Regions from separate parts of the Homo sapiens genome. Here regions 2 and 3 are each linked to region 1. The links are contacts of gene promoters, found by promoter capture Hi-C in blood cells and fetal thymus (Javierre and others, 2016). All regions are on one chromosome and are shown on one strand. The core of a region is centred on a gene start or on the middle of the fragment in contact, and the rest is flanking DNA. Distances in the headings are between cores, read along the strand shown.

Evidence for each region. The method cuts DNA at HindIII sites, captures the fragments that hold promoters and counts their contacts. A CHiCAGO score of 5 or more calls a contact.
Region 2: a contact is called between a fragment that was not itself captured here and the fragment with the promoter of TMEM168 in region 1, in 1 of 17 cell types (M1 macrophages). The highest score is 5.5, in M1 macrophages.
Region 3: a contact is called between a fragment that was not itself captured here and the fragment with the promoter of TMEM168 in region 1, in 7 of 17 cell types (naive CD4 T cells, non-activated CD4 T cells, total CD8 T cells and 4 more). The highest score is 7.9, in naive CD4 T cells.

The regions. Positions count from the first base shown.
Region 1 is chr7:112,788,735-112,792,014 of GRCh38, forward strand. It overlaps TMEM168 (transmembrane protein 168), which reads right to left and starts at 1,659. Exons shown (of 5, transcript NM_022484.6): 1 at 1,426-1,659. RefSeq lists an enhancer at 1,918-2,047. The HindIII fragment of the contact is 5,754 bases long and covers 1-2,780 here.
Region 2 is chr7:113,423,385-113,426,664 of GRCh38, forward strand. No RefSeq gene overlaps it. Among named protein-coding and RNA genes, the nearest start is that of SMIM30, 310 kb to the left of the region's middle. The HindIII fragment of the contact is 843 bases long and covers 1,191-2,033 here.
Region 3 is chr7:112,209,570-112,212,849 of GRCh38, forward strand. All of the region lies in intron 1 of ZNF277 (zinc finger protein 277), which reads left to right. Among named protein-coding and RNA genes, the nearest start is that of ZNF277, 4.5 kb to the left of the region's middle. The HindIII fragment of the contact is 3,228 bases long and covers 1-3,115 here.

The sequences.
Region 1 (3,280 bases), core at 409-2,908:
CCTCCTCTCCACCATCATCTACATTTAATCCTCACCAAGTCCTGTCTACTATTCTTCCTAAACATTTTTTAAATGTTTCTACTTCTCGTCCCCAGGGTCACCATCCCAATTTTGGCCACCATCATGTTGAACATTTCCCTGTATCCACTCTTGCCCTCTCTAAGAAGTGTACTTTTTAAAACCAAAATTTAGCACTCCACTATGTAAAATGCTCCAATGGCGTCCCATCACCCTTAGCAATAAAGTCAAAACTCCTTACAGTGCCTTATAAGGCACTCCGTGTTGGGCCTGAATAACTCTCCTGCCTTATCTGTTACCAGTTTTCCTCTCACACTTTATTTTCCAACCTTACTGACCTTTCAATTACAAACTGCACAAATGCTATTCCCTTGCCAGGTACACTCCTTTTCCTCCTCCTGGCCCCACCCCAGTGCTCACACCTGGCTTATTCCAACTCTTCAGGTCTCAGATAAATCATTTTCTTAAGAGATTATCCCTGCCCCCTCCCCATTACATGACCCCCATACTTTCTCTGTTACATACCATCACTTATTTCATGTCTGCATTTCCCACTAGATCAAAAGGTCTCTGAGGGTTTGTCTTCAATACTGTACACCCAGTGACTAGCAAAAATCCGGCATCAAGAAGGTATTCAATAAATACTTGTTGAAAAATAAAGACTAATAAAGAAATAACTACATTTAACAACAATAGTCACCATTGGACACTTACTAATGCCTAAAGAGAATACAGAACTTAGCTATATCCCACAACTAATAACTAGTAGAACTAAGGGAGAGTCCATGAATGTTTGGTTTCTATTTCAGCTTTCCACCAGTCTTTACTTAATTCACCCAAATTCTTCCAAACCAATTCTCTCTCCATGTCCTACCTCTAGGGAATGGCTTGAGGCATACCGTATCACTTGCATTATCTTTCACTCAGAAACTCTGTCCCATCTAGAAGTGTCAAGGCTGAAAGAACTACACTGAAAAAACAGGGAATTTCAGTGCTTCAGTTCTGAATTACTGATAACTCTTTGAGCCATCTCATACGAGGAAAATGTCATCTAGAATATCAAACTCCTCAGCACTAGAGCAGCAACAGCAATTTCTCTCCCTTTCGGCCTCCTTCTAGCGAGATGTGGGAGGTCCGACAAGGAGCTTGGCTGTTCTCCACCATCCTCTGCCTCGGAGAACGCGACCACAACGTGGCGCCCAGTTGAGGGGGAACCCTTGCGAAATACGGAGAGGCGCTCCCACACCCTCCAATCTCCAACCACCACTGTCAACTCCTCCAGAGGCAGGTATCCTACCCCGGCCCTGGGAGGCCGACTGGGCGGAGCTTGGGGTCCGGACCACGCGGAGCCCTGGCAGTGTCTATGCCTAGATCTCGCCGCCCTGCCGTCCACCCATTTCTCCCTACCTGACTCGGCCGTCGCCACCAACGCGCTCTCCCAACCCTCGGAGTCAGTTCCAAAACCAAACCAAAAAGGAGGAGAGCAGACAAGGCTTCAGCCTGCGACTGAGAACAGGGAGGCGGCACGCCTTGGGGAACGAGGGCCCGAGGCCATACGCGCTAATACAGGCCAGTGTCGGCGTAAACTTTCTCCGTTACCGGCCCGGCCGCGACCGCCATGTTTCCGCCGCCGAAATCCGCGACGGTACGGAACGCCGCCGGGGTCAAACTGCGCGGCGCGCCTCCTTCCCGAGGCCCGGCCCCCTCCCCGCCCAAACCCGCGCGCCGCCACACACTCAGGTGAGCAAGGCGCTGCGCGAGTGTCAACTGCCCCACCTAAGGCGCCTGCCTTCCTCAAGCCAAAGTCGACTCCTGGGACCTGGAATCAGCAGCTGAGAACAGACAGCGGGAAGACCACCAAAGATCAGGCTGACAGTGCCCATCAAGCATCTAGGCCACCGCCTCGGGCTGGACCGAACGGGGACAGGGTGGACAGGACTGCCACGCGTGGGCTGTAAATACTGCGGGAGGCGTTGCTGCTCATTAATATATATGGCATAATATATGGCTTTGTAACCAGCTAAGGCCCAAGCTCCTTAGGCCCTCCCTCAGACCTTTCAGTTCCTCAAATGCAGGGACATGTCGGGTTTTGCTCAACATTAAATCACCTTAGCATAGTGCCTGACACATAGTTGGCACTTAAATATTTGTAAAATAATAATATGCAATAGGCTCTCCACGATCCGTAGTTCTCTCCTCCCACTTGTTTTGCATGTATTATCTATATATTTTTCCTATTTTCCATAATAGAGTGTGAATTTCCTAATTTTCATAATAGATGTTGGGGGTTGGTGTGGCCAGCACATCTATAGGAATGAACAACTCTCAGATTGAGATTCTGCATATGTGGATGAAAATTTTGAGTTAGATTCTCTCTAGACTCCTGATTTTAAAAGCAATCACAACTCAACTTCCCAAATCTGTAACTAGCTCTCTGGGGAACACGAGTGCCACATTTCCAACTACCTGCTAGATGTTTCTACTCAAATATATTGTCATCACTTCCAACTCAACTTGCCTTTAATGGACATTTATATACATTTATTATGCCCCCCATTTGAATCCCCTTCCGTATTTGGAGAATTCCCCACCTGAGTTAAGAGTCTAATGGCTGCCGCTGAAATGCTGAACACTTGTTTAACTAATCATGTGTACCCGCTGGAAGCCATGAGTCAAAAAAGGCACAGAAAGCTACACTCCCAGGTCACCTGTAGGAGTATAGCAAGTGTAGAGATCGAGAACCCATCCCTAACAGCAAGGTAAGCTTCCGAGGCAGTAGTGAGAGTGCTGGCATCCACCATTAACATGTCAGAGATGCAAGATGCCTGTGCTTGGTGAGGGTCACAACCCCAGAGCCCTTTCCCAATCTGTTCTGTAGCCTGTTAACAGTCTCTGTGTACATTTCTGGGTAGCCTGTGACAGACTCTGTACTACATAGCTGTGAGGCAGGACAATAGGGTCTGGAGGCAAGGAACTTACGGCTGATTCATGCTGACTTTCTAGAACTAAATCAAAAGGAAAGCCCCAACTTTCCACAGCTAAGTAACAAAGGGACCCGGCCCCCTCCCCCACCACCGCCCTTTTCTGCGTGGCAGACGGAAAATTGAAAGTACCTCGGATTGGTTGCTTTCCATAACTAATTAAATGTTTGCATAGGGTGTAACCTTTGTAACTTCGCTTCAGGCTCTGATTGGTTGCTTTCCGCTATCAGACTGATTGTGGGCCACTATATTTGCGTGGGGTGTACACCAAGTGGCCAATG
Region 2 (3,280 bases), core at 362-2,861, 630 kb after region 1:
AATAATACTTGAAAAGATAAAATCAAAAGGATAATATACATATATACATAAGCTGATGTTGGACCATACATTTGGCTAAGTTTTCTAGCAGTGAACATTAAGCAGAGAAAGAAAATCACTGTAAGATTTATAATGTGCCCTTGATAAAACTAAGCCAGTAGCTTCAGATAAAAATGCTTACTTTGTCCTGGCATTAGAGGAAAATCTTCTCTGTGTTCTTATAAATATGATTCTATACAACATTGGGAATAAAATCTTCCCTTATCTTTATCATTACAATGATCCTAGAAATTCTACTGATTAAAGTTGACAAAATTGACAAATGTCAATGAGTGACATTAATATAATAGGTCATTTGGTCACTAGGTAATTTCAAGTTTTCACTTGTAAATGAGGGTGTATTTACATAGGTAGTTCCTTAGTCCTCAGTGTGAAACATTGCTGTTCACACCAAAATACAGTAGAAGGAATTATACAAAGTGCAAATATAATACTGTTCACTCGTGATATCCTCAATACGCTTAGCCTGAGTCAAATAATCTAGTAACTTTAACTTATTCCGGGTCTTGGTTTTGGCCTTAAGGAGTGAGAGGTCACAGACTTTTTTAAGGATCTGCTGATCACTAAGCTTCTTCTTCTCAGCAGATAATATACAATTGGTCCTCATTATTCACAGATTCTGAATTTGTGAATTCACCTACGCACTAAAGTGTACTTGTAACCTCAAAGACCATAGGTCCTTTCAAAGTCATTATCAGATGTATGCATGTGCAAAACATCAAAAACTTTGAATTTCCTGATGTGCACATTCCCAGCTGATGTGGAAACGGGTGACACTTTGCTTTTTTGTTTCCGATCTCAAACTGTAAACGAGTATCCTTTAGTGCCACATTTTTTTTCACATTTTTTGCATTTTGTTAATGATTTCTCTGTTTAAAATGGCTCCCAAGCATGGTGCTGAAGTGCTGTTTAATGTTCCTAAGCACGAGAAGGCTGGGATGTGCCTTATGCAGAAAATGTATGTTAGATACGCTTTATTCAGGAATGATTTATAGTGATGTTGGCCATGAGTTCACTGGTAATAAATTAACAATAAATATTAAATATGATGTCTTTAAACAGAAACACACATAAAACAAGGTTATGTATTAATCAGTTGATAAGAAATGTTGTTCCCAGATGCTCGCAAAAGCTTATCTCTGTATTTTTCCAAGGAAAATAACACTAAATTTCCTCTAGGAGCAATGACTCAGTATTTGCTAATTCTGTGTTCATGGTCACTTTATAAAGCACAACTACTGCAAATATCAAGAACTGAACTGTATACACATAGAAGTCTCCTTCAAATTCAAGGATTTTATGAAGTCATGAGGCCTATTCAAGTATGTTAGATAAAAGCCCTTGATGAAAAATGAATATACTAAATATATTAAGAGCTATCTTACATAAGTAATGGTTTCTCTCAATGAGCTTTTTATAATGGTTATGGGCTCTAAAGTCAAACTGCCAGGGTTCAAACCTTGCCTCTATGACTTTCTAGCGGGCGAGCCTGGGCAGGTTTCTTAATCCAAACTTCCTCATCTGCAAAATAGGGAAATTAAGGAAAGGGATTAGAACATCAAAGAGTACATATGACATTACTAATATTTTTGATTGATTGATTATTAACCAGATACATACAAGAATAATTAGAATTTCTGTTACTTATCAGGGAGGGGGTTAGAGAACAGTGGGCAGCAGATACAAGACAAACAAATACTATTTTTAGACCTCAATGAGTATAAGGTTTCTCAATTAAACTGTCTACTATTCAGCTCCTCATGGTTCTGTTCACAAATGAGTTTGGTGAGAACTAATAACTGAAAGACTAGCCCACAGGGAAGTCAACTTTTTATTCCCAAACTTTGGGCTAAAAATAATAAGACAAAATAGTTGGGCTTTAAAATGAAGGGAAAGAGATTAGCAATTAATGAGATTAAAATATTAAAATGAAAGTTAAAAGACTAAGATAAAAGGCATAAGTAAAGGCAAGAAGCTTAGAGATTATAAGAGGAAAAAAGAAAAGCAAAAGGAAAATGCACTAAAAGCAAATAAGGGATGTGCCCAAAACAAAGCTCAAGGTATGTCCAGTTTCCACAAGGGTTGGGTCCCTTGTAACAGTGGGGCCAACTACAACTCTGATAAACAATTCTTTAGGGATCTACTGTAACAAAGCTTAGGACCACTCAGTTCAAACAACTGGAGGGATTTAGGACAAGCAGCAATTTGTCTAAGCTAAGTAGAACATACTGATAAAATAAATATGATAGTAAAATAATTCTGACGTACTAAAAAACTTCAAGTTTAAGGACCTCTAGCTTTGTTTTTTAACATTGTCTTGGTTATTTTTGGCCCCTTATTCTTTAAAATAAAGTGCAAAAAATTAATTCATCAATTTCCACTGAGAGTGTTTGGAATTTAATCTATTGATTGAATTTGATCTATAGATCAGCTTGATGGTAATTGGTATCTTTACAGAAGTCTTTAAATACGTGAACATAGTATATGTCTCCATTTATTTAGGACTTTAAATTTCCTCCATCATGTTTTGCAGTTTTCGTTATAGAGATCTTACAACTCTTTTTTGTTAGATTTGTTTTTAGGTATTTGATGTTTATGCATACTCTTATAAATAGTATTGCTTTAAAATTTCGTTTTATGTTTGTTTATGGCTGGTACAGCATGCCCCGCATAAAGACAGTTTAATCAACAATAGACCACATTATAAGGCAGTAGTTCCATAAGCGTACGATGGCGGTGGCTCATACCTATAATCCCAGTGCTTTGGAAGGCCAAGGTGGGAGGATTCCTTGAGGCCAGGAGTTTGAAACCAGCCTGGACAATATAGCGAGACCCTGTCTCTGCATAATAATAATAAAGATTATAATAAAGCTGAAAAAATCCTATTGTCTAGTAATGTCACAGCAGTCATAACACCATAGTGCAATGCATTACTAATATATTTGTGGTGATACTGATTTAAACAAACCTACTATGCTGCCAGCCATATAAAAGTATTATGTACAGTATATAATACTGATGATGATAATAAACAACTATGTTACTGGTTTATATGTTTATTATATTATAGTTGTTATTGTTATTTTAGAATGTACCTCTTCTATTTATTTTTTTAAAGCTAACTGTAAAACTGCCTCAGGCAAGTCCTTCAGAAGGTATTTCAGAAGGCATTATTGTCATAGGAGATGACAGCTCCTTTCGTGTTATTGCCCCTGAAGAC
Region 3 (3,280 bases), core at 252-2,751, 580 kb before region 1:
TCATTGACTTGTAGCAGTCAACAGGAGAAATTAATGGTTGATTTTTTATGTCATTTTTATAAGATAAAGTTGTCATTAAAAATTCTGCTTAATAACCTATGTATCATTCTGTTACTTTTTCCAAAATCTTTTCAAAGCCAACAAGGTGTGATATAAATTTTAGGTGTAAATATTTATATTAAAAGTATATTTTTTGTTAGGCAGTCATTTAGGTTATCAAGTATGTCTTTCCCTGTAAAAATCATACACCTTTTTGGATGAGTTCATGTCCTTTGTAGGGACATGGATGAAGCTGAAAACCATCATTGTGAGCAAACTATCGCAAGGACAGAAAACCAAACACCACATGTTCTCACTTATAGGTGGAAATTGAACAATGAGAACACTTGGACACAGGGCAGGGAACATCACATACCCGGGCCTGTCGTGGGGTTGGGGGATGGGGAAGGGATAGCATTAGGAGAAATACCTAATGTAAATGACGAGTTAATGGGTGCAGCAAACCAATATGGCACATGTATACATATGCAACAAACCTCCAAGTTGTGCACATGTACCCTGGAACTTAAAGTATAATAAAAATAAAATTTTTAAAAAACATACACCTTTTTGACTTCTTGAAAACTGCTTCTTTTAAGAGATTTTCTTCTTGCTCTGATTAAAATGTTAGTCTGTGTGTTTAATACCCTGGGACAGTGAGGCCTAGGAAGACTTTTTATAGAAATCCTTGCAATTCCTCAAAATCTCTGCTAGAGTGAGTCAGTGGGTGGGGTGCAGGCAGGTGCAACACTCACTGAGACCACTGTGTTGCCAGACTTCTGTGGCTCCATCCTTCTCCAAGAAAGTCCCCACATTGAGGTCAAGGATTTTTTTGCTTTTTTTGTTTTTGTTTTTTGTTTTTTTTTTTTGTTTTTTTTTTTGAGACAGAGTCCTGCTCTGTAACCCAAGCTGGAGTGGAGTGGCACGATCTCAGCTCACTGCAACCTCCGCCTCCCGGGTTCAAGTGATTCTCCTGCCACAGCCTCCCGAGTAGCTGGGATTACAGGCGTGTGCCACCATGCCCAGCTAATTTTTATATTTTTAGTAGAGACAGAGTTTCGCCATCTAGGCCAGGCTGGTCTCAAACTCCTGACCACAGGTGATCCACCCTCCTCGGCCTCCCAAAGTGCTGGGATTACAGGCGTGAGCTACTGCACCTGGCACACTAGGTCAAGGGTTAAAGGACACTGCTTTACATACATCTGAACAGTAACCAGAATTTCAATTTGTCTCCTAAAATTAAGAACAGATAATAAATAGATTCAGCATCCCTCACGTGGTGTCATTGGCATTTGTTCTTTTGCTGTTTTTAAAAATCAGCAAGGTAGCACAATTCAGTAATAATACATTTAGGAGGCTTTTGTGACTGAGGCTATTTCTTCTGAGTATTAATCTGTATCTCCATATTGTAATATTCTGTCAAAGTCAACTTTTTTCCCTCCGAATGGGTGTTTAGTAGTTGATGATTTTGCTAATGCTTGGATTCTGGACCTTATTATCTGATGATTTTGGTAATGTTTATCTTCCAGAGAACTTACTATCTCATGTGTGATGTCTCTGGAAGAAAGAGGGAAGGGTAGCAGGTGATGTAAACTCCTCATTCTTGTATTTCCTATTTCAATAAATGGCATCAAGTCTAAGCTAGAAACCTAGGAAGCATCCTTGATTCCTAACTCGCCCTCAGGTACTGAATTTGATCAGTTAGCAAGCCTTATTTTTCTGCGCCTGTAGTATATTTTGAACCTGTTCCCTCTATTCATAGCTACAGCCACTGTGCTAATTCCATTACTAACCCTCACCATTACTGCTGAATTACCTACCTGCATCTCCCATGCCCCAGAAAGTGCTCTTGAGAACCAGTTGTATGTGTGTTTGTCAGCCTGATTCTGTTCTTGGCACATTGTTAATGTTTAATAAGTGTTTGACCAGAATGGAATTCTAGCCTGAACGATTGCAAAACCTTCCTGTTGATCTCACTGACTCTTGACTTTACCTCCTTTAATCCACATTGTAAAACAAATATATTCATGGATCTCCACTTGAAATCTTCAGTGTAATTCTGCTACATGTATAATTAGGTCCAAACTCTCTGTGTGGCATTTAAGATTCTAATCTACTTGTCTAGCCTCATCTTCAGTCACCCTGCTTCCTTTCCCATATCTCCATTATCCACTTACCATGTCACACTGTAGTTATTTTTTGGCAACTTTGTCTACCCCAGTGGACAGTGAACTTCTTGAGGTCAAGAGTTGCCTTATTTCACTTTTGTACATCCAGTGTTTATCAAAGCTGCATACAGTAAACATTGTATAACAGTCTAATGTTAGAATATGCTTGAAATTTATTCAAGGCATTTAGAGTGGCTACTATTTTGAGCAGAGGAACTGAAGTAGAATAAAAAACTGAATAGATGTTTTATGCTTGTGAAAGGTATGCATACCAACTAAAATGCAAAATATCAGGAGGATGATATTCTGTCAAGGTGATCATAGTTAGCATTTAAGGATAGTATTTCAGTTTTTTAAAATAAAGTTTTAATGTTGTTTAAATAATAATTACATTTTTTAAAAGAATACTTTAGATCTGGCCTTTATAACTTTAAGCCTGTAACTGAATGACCTACCACATGGACCTTGAATTCTGTCTTTCATCATCTATATGGCTGTTACCAATTTTCTACAGGCTGTCATTCTATTTCTATAAACCATTAAGTCCAGTCTCATATATTTGACATGGCAATGGAAAGAGGACTAGACCTTATTTTGACAAAACGGTATTTAAATTCCAATTCTGACATTTAAAAGCTGTGTAACATAGGTTTATTATATGTGCTGCCACATTTATGAAAATATCCGTATAATACCTGTCTTGCAGTTATTGTGATTATTTCATATTTATATATTTATGAAAGCCTAGCATATTTCCTGTTATAAAGTCAGACCTCAGTAAGTATTAGTTGCTTTCATTATAAAGATAGGCCCAATTATAAAGATCTGCCTGCTCTATCAAGAACTGCCTGCTCTTTGATACTGTATTCACTTAGGAAGCAATCTAAATTGTGGAGTAACCCTGGGGAAGCTTAGGAATGTGTTGGTGATAACTGCTTATGCTGTCAATGCTTTCCTGGAATTTGGGAGTTGTCAGAGTGTCTGTTGGTGCTACATACTAGTATTACAACTATGTGCTCTGCAAGCCTTTATATTATCTTCTGTATCCTCTCTCACTTCTATACAGTGCTACT